2 separate regions of the Homo sapiens genome follow, and region 1 is linked to region 2. Evidence: promoter capture Hi-C in 16 types of primary human blood cells and fetal thymus (Javierre and others, 2016). All regions are on one chromosome and are shown on one strand. Each heading gives the region's core, a stretch centred on a gene start or on the middle of the fragment in contact. The rest is flanking DNA. Distances are from core to core; before and after follow the strand shown. Region 1 overlaps LOC105371082 (a long non-coding RNA gene). Region 2 holds the start of SNN (stannin).

What was found. Contacts are between HindIII fragments. The CHiCAGO score rates a contact against its expected background, and 5 or more counts as called.
Region 1: a contact is called between a fragment that was not itself captured here and the fragment with the promoter of SNN in region 2, in 1 of 17 cell types (non-activated CD4 T cells). The highest score is 5.3, in non-activated CD4 T cells.

What each region holds. Positions count from the first base shown.
Region 1 is chr16:11,354,554-11,360,795 of GRCh38, forward strand. All of the region lies in intron 1 of LOC105371082 (a long non-coding RNA gene), which reads left to right. Among named protein-coding and RNA genes, the nearest start is that of RMI2, 12 kb to the left of the region's middle. RefSeq lists enhancers at 1-550, 728-877. The HindIII fragment of the contact is 5,116 bases long and covers 1-4,020 here.
Region 2 is chr16:11,664,323-11,670,435 of GRCh38, forward strand. It overlaps SNN (stannin), which reads left to right and starts at 4,133. Exons shown (of 2, transcript NM_003498.6): 1 at 4,133-4,218. RefSeq lists a silencer at 3,806-4,225 and an enhancer at 5,333-5,432. The HindIII fragment of the contact is 10,329 bases long and covers 1-6,113 here.

The DNA of each region.
Region 1 (6,242 bases), core at 213-2,712, 310 kb before region 2:
CTACTGTGGCGAAACCTGCTTGTGTGCTAGAAAAAAGACCCAAGCTGCCGAAAACCACCTGTACCGTATCCTGCCCCATTTGTCCTCACCCAACTTCTGGTAAGTAGTGTCCATTGAAAAATGCTAGTTGGGCTGACATGGTGGCCTGAGCAATAATGCATCTCAGGAGTCTGTTGGCGGGGTGGAGGTAGGAAAAGGAGGGCACTGTGTGTTTTTCCTGACAGTCCCCTCAGAAATGCTGGTGGCTTGGTGCTGGAAGGGTGTTGCCTCACCATGTTAGCTGAGCTGTGTGGTTTCTTTGAATGTTAACAACTTTCACTGTTTCGGCTTGAGTTTCCTCCCTGACATCACCAGATGAAAACATATGTCAGAGGTTTTGGGTTTCTGGTGCCAAATCCAAGATGGCTTATCAGCAAGCGCCCCCCGCCAGACAGTGGAGGCTGTGCTGGGGCAGAGCTGCTTCCCCTTTGACATTGGCTTTTTTCTAAAACCGAAAATAAGCAACCGTGGCTGTGACTTCACTTTTCTTGGAACTGCTTTACATTACCCCCCAAATGGAGAAAACCCTCATTTAGCAGCTTTTGGATTGCCAAGTTCTCTAATTCTTTCTGTTGCATATTCTTGTAATGCTCAAGTTTTACTGACAAAGTCTTCTGCATCAGGTGAAGCAGGAGGAGGAAGGAATGACCATGTGAAGTAACTGAGCGCTTTGTTGCCTGGCCTGTGGGTGTGTGGTTTCATGGTTGAGGAGAAAAAGCACCTGGAAGACACAGTGTGTGTAGAATGCCTTCCAGTTCCAAGGGTGACAACCCTGCGATCTGCTGGCCAGCAGATGGGCTAGGGCTGCTGTTGCTAAACATCAGGCTACAGCCGAAACTTACAGAGCAGCTGCCTGCTTCAAGGACAAGGGGAAAAATGCATTTTCAGTCATAATGACCTACATTTAGCAGATATTTCGGAGCCCGTGCGAAAGGACATCTTCAAAGGGCCTCTTCCTCCTTGTGATAAGGGAGACAGTGATGTTAGTCAAACGTGGGGCCCAGTCCTGGTCCTGCCCGTTCCTGTCTGACTTTGGCCTTGGAAGTCTGTGAAGCCGAGACAATTCATCCTTCAAAGGGTGGTACCGGGTAAGTTCTTGGGAATGGAATCCCAAGATCCACTCCTGAGAGTGGATCTTTGTAGACAGGCACATACGTTGTTCTGAAATCATCTGTTGCTATCTCTGTCCCTGTTGGAGGCGCTTCCAGTGACGTCGTGATTGTGTCCTACTTATCTCAGTATCCCTGCCCAGCATGGGGTCTTAGGTAACATACATGGGCAGTCGGTCAATGTTAGGACTGGCTGGGTTTTAGGCTAGAAGACAGAGGAAATATACAAGCAAAGGCACAGTGTCTTAAATTTACACTTGGCCCGCAGCAGTTTTCAGAAGAAAGGAGCCCCCTGCTTAGTAGCGCCTTTTGAATTGGGCCCCCTGTGTAGTTTATAGCAGGCCTGAGGGTGCTGGCTAGACTGTTGGGGAGTGCTCTTTAAGCACAGAGGAAAGATTTGGTAAAGACATAAAAGGGTGGAGGAAAAGGAGCGAGACAGCCGAGTCCAAAAAACGATTCATGTGGTTTGGGCAGAATCTGAAATGAGAGTCCTTTGAGATTGACTGAACGTCTCTTGATAAAGAAAGCAAGTTCAGCTGGGCGTGTTGGTTCATGCCTGAAATCCCAGCACTTTGGGAGGTTGAGGCGGGCAGATCACCTGGGGTCAGGAGTTCAAGACCAGCCTGGCCAACATGGTGAAACCCCATCTCTACTAAAAATACAAAAAATTAGCCGGGTGTGGTGATGTGTGTCTGTGGTCCCAGCTACTTGGGAGGCCGAGGCAGGAGAATCGCTTGAACCTGGGAGATGGAGGTTGCAGTGAGTAGAGATCGCGCCACTGCACTCCAGGCTGGGTGACAGAGAAAAACTCTGTCTCAATAAAATAAAATAAAATAAAAATAAAAGAATGCAAATTCAGCTAAGAGTTAAGTGCCAGGGCCTGTGCTGGAAGCCGTCTCATGAGTCGCTTCATTTTACTGTCCCAGTACGCCTGGGAGGTCTGTTTCCCATCCCCTTTCACAGCTGTGAAAACCGCAGCCACGGAGATGAAGTCCTTTTTCCAGGGGCATCTACCTGGCAGCCGAAGAGCCAGGTGGTGAACCAATAGGTGCCCCTTGTCGTTAAGGGCACTGTTGTTGTGGGTGGCCAGGACCAGGCCCTTCCCTAGGGCAGCTCTTCCCCAGGGCAGCTCTGGGAGCTGATGGTCTCTACACGGGCGCTGGCCCCCCCTGCTGGTCTATGCACAGAAAATGGGATGACAACCCGTCACCAGAAAACAAGGGCACAGAATGGAGCAAAGGAACAAAATGGGGCCATGAGAAACTTCACCCCTGTCTACCCAGGAGTTCTGCCCATTATGGCCAAGCCCAGGTGGGGGTGGGGAGAGTGCTGGATTTGGCAACCAGATGGGTTCTGAGGGGCTTGCAGTGGGGCCAGCCCCACTGTTCATTCAGTGGATGACCTTGGGTGGGTTATTTTCACTGCCCTTCTGATATCCATAGAGAAGGGATGACGTGGGGTCAGAGAGGTTAAATAATTCGTCTGCATGACTGTTAACTGGAATCTGGTGCTTCAAAGTTCACTTTAGTGGCCTTTCTGTCGCCAAGCACCTGCTGGGTTCCAGACTCTGGATACACGAGGTGAAGGAGACACGTGGCTGCCCCCTGTGTGCATGGTATCTTCTTGGACCTCCCATTCCTCCTTATCGTTCCTGTTTTAAGCCCGAGGAAGTCCTGTGCTTTTAAGAACTTGTGCGGTTAGATTGGGCTCACCTGGGTATCGAAGCTAATCTCCCCATCCCAATGCCCTGACTAATCCCATCTGCAAAGTCCCTTTTGCTACGTAAGGTGTATGATATTCAGAGGTTCTGGGGATTAGGGCGTGGACATCGTTGTGTGGGGAGGGACATTCTGCCTACTAGACCCCAAAGATGTGTGTTCATACCAAATACAAAATACATTCACCCTGCCCCAAGGTCTCATCCCATTATAACATCAACTGAAGAGTCCCAAATCTGCTCTCAATCTCGTCACCTAATCACCTCAATCTGGTGCTGCGGAGGCTTTGGGTATGACCCATCCTGAGCAGTTCGTCTCCCTCTGTGAACCTGGAACTCACTAAACCAGTTACCAGGCCCTAAAGTGCAGTGGGTGGCCACCTAGAGGAGCACAATCTAGTTCTGTCCCTGATCCAAGGGACCTGAGATGTAATATGGGCAAGAAAGAAAAGGAAGAAACAATGAGGCTGTACACCCAGAAATACCAAACTGCCTAGCCTCCCTTCCTCCTGCTCACACAGGACAGGGAAAGGAGTTTCTCCAAAGGGCCTGTCAGCACCGAATTCCACATCCTGTGAGCTTGGGAAGATGCCAAGCTACACGCTTTCCTCCAGCGGGTACTGCTCATTTTAGAAAGTGAGTCAGTCTGGGCGTGGTGGCTCACAGCCGTAGTCCCAGCACTTTGGGTGGCCGAGGCGGGTGGATCACCTGAAGCCAGGAATTTGTGACCAGCCTGGCCAACATGGCAAAACCCTGTCTCTACCAAAAATAGAAAAATTAGCCGGGCATGGTGGTGCACGCCTGTGGTCCCAGCTACTTGGGAGGCTGAGGCAGGAGAATCACTTGAACCCAGGAGGCGGAGGTTGCGGTGAGCCGAGATCGTTCCACTGCACTCCAGCCTGGGTGACAGAGTGCCACTGAGACTCCGTCTCAAGAGAAAAAAGAGTCAGCACCTGCCCTGGGGTCTTCCATCAGACAGCTGTGCATTACCTCAGGTGAAGGTTTTCCCAGAGCACAGCTGAGCTTGGTCATCCTGCATGTAGGACTCAGTGTTGTCAAAAGTAGTTGATTATCAGCTCCACCTGGGCTGTTTTTAACCTGGTCCCTACCCATATCTTTAATTAGGATCCACGTGCTGGGGGCTCAGGAAGTCTAAGCTTTTAGAAAGCTCTCCGGTGGGTCTCGTCATCAACCAGGCTTGGCAGCCACAGATCTACAGCTTCCTGGCCCAGAGATAGCTGGGCCACAGGAGGGGTCAGAGCTGCCCGTGGCACTGGTTGTGAACTGGTGAAGGCTTCCTCTGGTGGGGACCCTGGAGCCCTGAGTACCAGGACCAAGGGGTCCATGCATGCCCCAAGCTTCTGAGGAGGAGAAGAAAGGAAGGATGGAAAAAGCCCATGTGGAGGAACAGGGCTGCTCCACCTCTTGGACGTCCAGGGCCATCTTGATGCTGGGCCGTTGCAAGGTAGTGATATCAAGTTCCCTTTTTAAAAAGCCCGGTGGCTGGATGCAGTGGCTCACGCCTGTAATCCCAGCACTGTGGGAGGCCAAAGCGGGCAGATCACCTGAGGTCAGGAGTTCCAGACCAGCCTGGCCAACATGGTAAAACCCTGTCTCCACTAACAATACAAAAATAAGCTGGGTGTGGCGGTGGGTGCCTGTAGTCCCAGCTACTTGGGAGGCTGAGGCAGGAGAGTCGCTTGAACCCAGGAGGCGGAGCTTGCAGTGAGCTGAGATGGCGCCACTGCACTCCAGCCTGGGTGACAGAACGAGACTCCATCTCGGGGAAAAAAAAAAAAGTGAGCCCTTTTACAGAAAACTACTAAGTAAACAATAGTACAGTGGTACCTGAGTGACTGATGTTTGGGTACTTTTTCCTGATGTTCTAAAATAGAGCTGCACTGTCCAATGTGATTGTCACCAGCCTCATGGAGCTGTGGAGTACTTGGAGTGTGCTGGTGTGATAGACAGAGTGGCCAAACTTAGTAAATAAAAGTGTAGGGTGCCTCCCATTCCACCAGTGTGGGCTGTGCACAGTGACTTCCTTCCAGAATGGAAAGGGGGATGAAAGAGTAACTTTACGGTGGTGAAACCTGACAAACTGCCTCAGCCAGCTGGCCAAGGTTAACATCAAGTAATACATCACGTTAATAGCACACATGGGTAAGATGCCTGAGGCCCTGGGAGGCCAGGACTTAGAAGCCTCAAATTCCACAGCCAGTCCTCACCGCCCTCACGTGGCTCCTGCAGAGAGTAGGGACAGTGCCCTAAGGGGACTTTGGGAGTCTCATGTGACCACATGAGGTCTCTTGAAGGCCTGGAGAGGCATTTGCGGACATGGTGTCTTCCATAGGTATGACAGCCGGGGTTGGTGCTTGAGACCTCTGGTCAGAGCCTGTAATGCCACGTCATGAATTGCCACAAACTTAGCAGCTTAAAAAAACAAATGTATTAATATCTCACAGTTTCTGTGGGTCGGGGTCTGGTAGGGTGTTGTTAGGTTCTCTGCTCAGGACCTCTTCAGGCCAAAATCAAGGTGTCAGCCAGCTGAGCTCTCTTCAGGAGGCTCTGGGAAGAATCCCGAATGGGCATCCAGGCTCATCAGGCTGTTGGCAGAATTCAGTTCCTTGCAATTGTAGGGCTGAGGTCCCATTTCCTTGCCGGCTGTAAACTGGAGGCTCCTAGAGGTCCCCTCCATCTTCAGGAACGAGCCTTGAATCTGCCTCCTGCTCTCCAGCCTCTGATTTCCTGGGCCCAGGTTTAGAGAGGGCTCATGTGATTGGCTCAGGCCCCCTACCTTAAGGTCAGGTGACTTGGGACTTTACCTCTCCAGAATCACTGCACAGCAACACCTAGATTCGTGTTCGATTGAATGACTGGGGGAAGGTGTATCCAACGGGTTGGAATCGTGTCTGTGGAGGGGAAGGGGTATCTTAGAATTCTGTCCACGAGGACCTGCCTGATGGAACAGCACAATAGGGCTTCAGATCCAGACAGCATGGTTCCAATCCCAGCTTTACTACCACTCAATAAATGATTTGGGACACATAGCCTTTTTGGGCTTCCATTTCCTCACTTTGCAAAATTGAAGTAAGAACAGCCTTGTTTGCCGCCTTGTAGTCCCTACTACTCGGGAGCCTGAGGCAGGGGAATCACTTGAACCCGGGAGGCGGAGCTTGCAGTGAGCCAAGATCACACCATTGCACTGCAGCCTGGGTGACAAAGCAGGACTCCATCATACAAAAAAAAAAAACAAAAAACAAAACCAGCCTTGTTAAATTCATCCCATGTGTTGATGCACTGGCTGTAATATTCCTGCTATTATTAGTGACTTGCTCCCAGAGCTGCCCTGCCCATTGGGAGAGCTCTTCTGTCTT
Region 2 (6,113 bases), core at 2,883-5,382:
AAAGGAAGGAAGGAAGGAAAGAGAAAATAATAATAATAAAATTAGCCCAGTGTGGTGGTACATCTGTAGTCCCAGCTACTCGGGAGGCTGAGACGGTAGGATTGTTTGAGCCTAGATGGCAGAGGTTGCAGTGAGCCAAGATCACGCCATTGCATTCCAGCCTGGGTGACAGAGTGAGATCCTGTCTCAAACAAAAACAAAACAAAACAAAAAGCTGAGTGGGGTCACACAAACCTGTGGTCCTAGCTACTTAGGAGGCTGAGGTGGGAGAATCCGGGGAGGTCAAGGCTGCAGTAAGCAGTGATTGTGCCACTGGACTCCAGCCTGAGTGAAAAAATCAAGACCCTGCCTCAAAAACAAAGAAAATAAGAAATAAAAAGCAATGGGTATGTCATTACCATACACAGAAACACAATACCCACATCATACACAGAAGGTAACTAAAACATACACACACAGAAACCCACACATCATTCAGTTCTAGCTGCAGAGTGTCAACTGCCCGGGATTCTGAGCCTGAGGTCTGTGCTCTCTCCTGGACATAAGGGGGCTGAGCCAGCCTTACAGAGATGCTCAGGCCACACTAGCAGCAAAGGAGGCCTTGCCCCTAGAATGGGGAGCTGCTATGGGTTTCAGAGGTGAGTGATGCCCTCTCTGCCTTCCACCTAACCTCACCCTGCAGACCTCACCAGTGGTTCACATCTCACCCTTCAGGAAAAATCCCCTCTGGCCACGCAGTTTTCATTTTGTTCTCAGGCCTGGATCCCTTATAGAGATGCCCCAGGAGCAGAGGCCCGCCCACCCGAGCAGGGAGTCCCAGCTGTAGAGTCTCCCTTGAGGCTGAGGCCTCTCCACCCCGCCGAGCAACCCCCTTCCTTGTCCCAGCCCTTATAGCGGCTGGGGGAGTGGGCAGAGGGCCAGGCTGGTACAGGGCACACCAGCTGGACCCCAGCAAGCCCCAGGGAGCTGGGGTGAGCTCATCCCAAGCCCTCAATTATCCTCCTGGCTAATGAGCATCTGAGAACCTCCATCCCATTCTGTAAGGACGAACCCCGGGGACGTGAGGCCAGATGTCACTACGGAGGGAGGTAGAGGAAATGGGCTTGGGGGAGGGGCGCGATACTTCCTGCCTCCTCTTTGTTGGGGAGAGAAAGGTGGGGCTGCAGCAAGCAGTTAGGGTCGCAGTTAAGCGCAGGATCCTGTAGCCCATCTCATGGGCTCCAGTGCAGGCTTGGAGCCCACTACCTTGTGACTTTCAGCAAGTGAACTCGCCCTTGCTGCTCAAAGTCTGTCCCTGAATCATCAGCACCACTCGGGAACTTTTGAAAAATGCAGGATTTGGGGCTCAGACCTAGTGGGTCAGAAGCTGTATATTTTATTTTATTTTATTTATTTTGAGACAGGGCTCACTGTCACCCAAGCTGGAGTGCAACGGTGTGATCACAGCTCACTGCAGCCTCAACCTCCCAGGCTCAAGCAATCCTCCTACTTCAGCCTCCCCAGTACCCGGGAGTACAGGCGCACAACGCCACGGCCAGCTAACTTTTCTTTTTTAGAGATAGGAGTCTCACTACATTTCCAGGGCTGTTCTCAAACTCCTGAGCTCAAGCCATCCCCCTGCCTTGGCATTCCCCAAAGTGCTGAGATTACAGGTGTGAGCCACCGCACCCGGCCTCATCTCCATTTCTCAGACGAAAAAACTGAGGCACAGAAACGTTCGGCTGTTTTTCCAAAACCACCCAGCAGGAAAGCCTGGAATCTGGCAATCTGACTCCCAGCTTCTATGCCATGCTGAATCTCCCTCACCATTTTCCCCCAAGAATCTTTCCCCTCTAAGTGTCCCTGCCTCCCCTGTCATCGTGTTGCCAGTCCTGGCTCTGGGGTTCTTAGCCTGCCCCTCCCAGGTCCTCACCACTAATGAAGTCTCTGCCAACTTGAGGCGGGGACCACAAAGGCTGCTGGAACTGGCTTTGTGGGAAGAACCTATTTCCTTCCATTCTGGGCTCCTAGGTGTGGCTGATGGGGCAGGATTTGGGCAGATGTGGGGGCGGAGCTGTTCTGAGATGCCCGGCTTTGGCCTGTGGGGCAGCTGGCTGAAGCTGGGCTCTCCTCTGCCTTTCTGTCCTCCCTTCCTGCGCAACTCCCAGCTCACCTCCTGTGCCTGGCTTCCTGACTAGGCTGCCGCTGAACCCGCCCTGGAGTTCTGCAGTCCGATCATTCATTCATTCAACATCCATGTATTCAGCACCCACTGTGTGGCAGGCACTGTTCTGTAGACACAGCAGTGAGTGCAATACACCTAGTCCTGGGAGAGAAGACCAAAAGTTCATCACACAATGTCAAAAATGTACAATTTCACAATGGGTAGGCTGGGCATGGTGGCTCAAGCCTATAATCCCAGCACTTTGGGAGGCCGGGGCAGGAGGATCACCCAGGAGTTTGAGACCAGCTCAGGCAACAACAAGAGACCCTATCTCTACAAAAAATTAAAAAATTAGCCGGGCATGGTGGCATGCACCTGTAGTCTCAGCTACCTGGGAGGCTGAGGTAGGAGGATCGCTTGAGCCCAGGTTACAGTGACCTATGATTGCACCACTGTACTCCAGCCTGGGCGACAGAGCAAGACCTTCTCTCTAAAAAAAAGAAAAAAAATTGCTTCGTCAAATCTGCCCACATTCATAGATATAGGCTGAGTGGGACGATGGCTTGAGCCCAGGAAGGAGTTGGATGGAGGCTGTAGTGAGCTGTGATTGCACCACTGTACTCCAGCCTGAGTGACAGACCAAGACCCCGTCTCAAAAACAAAACAAAAAACCCCAAGGGAGCTACTCTTGGCTGGGCGATCAGGGAGGGCCCTCCTGAGGAAGGGGCACTTAAGCTGAGATCGGGAAGATGAAGTAGAAGAGTTCCAGCTGCAGGGAGCCACATAGGCAAAGGCCTGGCGGTGGGAAAGGCTTGGTGCACTGGGCGCAGGGAAGAAAGCCCAGCGAGGCTGAGTGGAGGGAGTGAGGGCCTGGCCACCTCAGCCTCGTGAGCCCAACCCGCCATGCTCTTCCAGAGGCTTCTGCTTGAGAATGGGAAAGAAGTTTCCAGCAAATAAGGCCCCCGTTCCCAGGAGGAGGTCCCAGCTCGCCCTGCCCCCTCCTGTCTTCTCAAGTCCCCTGGGCCACAGAAGCCTTGAGGGACCCACCCTCACCCCTTCTGTGGGCCCCAGGGCTGGGGTGTCCTCTCGCCGATGGCCTTCTTGGGGTGGATGAGTGGAGATTACTCCAATAACTGGAGCCTCTGTCTTCCCAGGTAGACAGGCCTGGCCTCAAAACCCTCTCTCCATCAGGAGCAGGCTGTGGGACTTCAGCTCTTTGGAGCCTCAGGTTCCTCATCTGTAAAATGGGAAGATTCTTTCTTCCGGAGTCATCTTAATAAAATGTGTTGGGCTGTTTATACAGGGCAGGCATTTGGTGGGGGCCAAACCACCGGGTAATTATGCTAAAAATAACTATGATTATAGGTGGCAGAGGGGTGCAAATGCCTCACAGCCTCATCCCGCAGAGGAATGAGAGCTTCGTCAGGGCCGGGACCTTGTCTGGCTCGTGGCTGCTCCCACGACGACTGGCGTGGCAGGCACGTGGTCAGTGTTCCGCCATCGACTGACTGGGCGGATGAATGATACATAAATGAATTCGCGAACGACTGATGCCCAGCTTCCTCCCGAAGCAAGGTCATTCACCTCAGCGGTCGCGCCTCTCCCCTGCCCCTGCCCCGGATTCCCCGCCGCTCTCAGCTCTCGAGGAGTATGCAGCACTCTTCCGTGCAGCGTGCCTCAGTTTCCTCCGCTGTAAGCAGGCGGGACCAAGGCAGCCTGCCGGGGTCAGGATGAGGCTGGCAGAGGAAGGGCGCCTGTAGTGGGGCCCCGTACCCACGGGCGCCCAATCCGCGCTCGCCAGGGCCGAGCCCGCCCGCCGCGCGCAGCCCCCGCCCCACCGCCTGCCGGCCCCGAGCACACGTGACTCCGCCCCGGCCCGCCCCGCCCCGCCGTCCCAGCGCGGGCTCCCATTGGCCTTTCTGGGAGGCCCCGTCCCCAGCCGGGGAGGAGCCGGGCCCCGCCCGCCGCAGCGCGGGGCTCCTGCGTCCCGAGTGCGCGGCGGCCGGACCGGGCGGGCGGAGCCGGGCCCGCGGGGCTGCTGCGGGGCGATCGGGCCGGGCCGCTGCCGCGCCATGGTGAGCCGGGCGGGGCAGGCCGCGCGCTCGGGCCGGGCGGGGGCGCCGGGGCCCGGGGGCGGGAAGGGGGAGGCCAGGACGAGGAGGGGCGCGCGCGGCGGCGGGGCCGGGCCGGGGTCTGCGGGCGGGGGAGGGGCGGCCCGGCGGGCGCGGCTCGGGGGAGGGTCCGTTCCAGGGGCCGCGCCCGCGGGCTGGGGTTCTTTGTCAGCGGCGCTGCGGCGAGATCCGGACAAAGGAGGCGGCGGGGGGCGGAGGCCGCTTTGTGGGGATCGCGGGGCGCTCGCCCCCGCCCGTGCAGCCCCCGCCCGTCCTCAGCTACGCTCCCGCCTTCCCCCGGCATTTCGGGGTTCTTCAAAATTCTGGGAGCTCCGGGGAGGGCTCCGGGGATAGGGGTCCAGGTGACGTCCGGCGCCCGTCTCGCGGGTAGGGAAACTGAGGCCGGGCCGCAGCGTTCGGCGCCCGGTTCCGTGGGCAGCGGCTGCGCGGCGTGGGCATGCCTAGCTCCCCTGGTCCCCGTCCCACACCCCGCCTCCGTCGGGCCGATTCGAGCTACCTCCCCAGCTGCCGTCCCCTCTCCAGCTGTCGCCCCCTGGGCCGAGCCCCCTCCTCCCTGGAGCCTCGCTTTGCTCCTCCGTGGAGTGGGGGAGACGCCGGCGCCGCCGGGCAGGGTGGAACGGGAGGGTGCGCGGAGCGCGCCTGGCACCGCGCCTGCCACGCCGCCCGCGCTCAGCACTCGGGAGCCGCCGGGGCGCTGTCACCCCTAAGTCCCCAGCACCCAGCCCAGGTCGCCCAGCCCGCCCCAGCGAGGGCCACACTGGGGTTCACCTGTCCGCGGCCCCTCAGGCACGCGGGAGAGGAGGTAGGGAGAATGTGGCATTTTAGAGTCAGGGTCGAAATGCGGGATTTTGGATGCAGGTTGCCTGGGTTTGAATCCCTGCGCGTCTACTTTTGAGCTGTGTGACCTTGGGCAATGGACTTAACTTCTCTGAGCCACCAATTTCTGTATCTGCCAAGAGGGAACAGTAATAGCTCAACTGCCCTGTTGTCTTGAGGCAGAAAGGAGACATCTGCGTGAGCTGTTTATCTCAGTGTCTGGCACATATAATTGCCACCAACTTTCTCCGGCATCTACAAGCAAAGTTGTTTGGCCAAACAGGCCAACCCTGGGGCAGCCTGTGAAAATGACCAGCGGGTGATTCACAGGGTGGGGGCATGAGCCTCTGGCCTGGCCCGAGGAAGACCCCGACTGACCTTGGGGCAGTCCCGGTTCAGAGCTCTGCGGGCTCCCGCTTCCTCTTTTGCCACTGGGGAACCTAGGGGATTCTGGAGCGAGTTTCCTCTTCTGAGGATGGGGGTGTCATGGGTGGGGGTGGAGGATGAGATAACACTGGCCAGAGAGCTGGGCACAGCCCCATCAGTGTCAGTCCCACTGGCATCCGGCCGTTCTTGGTCCTGGCTTCTGGAGGGCTGGGGCCTTGTGTGATGCGTCCTTGTGTCCCACTGGCTGCTGGAGGCCCAGGGCAGAACGGACGTCCCGCCTCGTCCTGGCTGTGTCCAGCAGTGCCCTCTTCTCCCTACAACCCTGTTTTCCCAGTCAGAACCTGGGGCAGGAAACGTTTCTGGTTTGTGACCCGGGGTTCGCTGAAGAGTTTGTTGGCACCCTTGGCAGGTGGCTTTATGGGGGGAGGCAGTACTGAAAGCCCCGTAGGGATGGCTGGTCCCCTGTAAGCAGGGCAGCCCTCCTGGCGTCTGTCAAGGAGCCTCAGGAGGTGGCGGCTGCAAGGCGGGGGTGTTTTGCTGGTGGTGAGCCCGGCAATGCTCATGATGTGCCCGGTTGAGTTAGGAGGAGGCAGCGTGTCCCTGGGGAAGGGGTGTTTGTGGCACTGGGCCTGGGC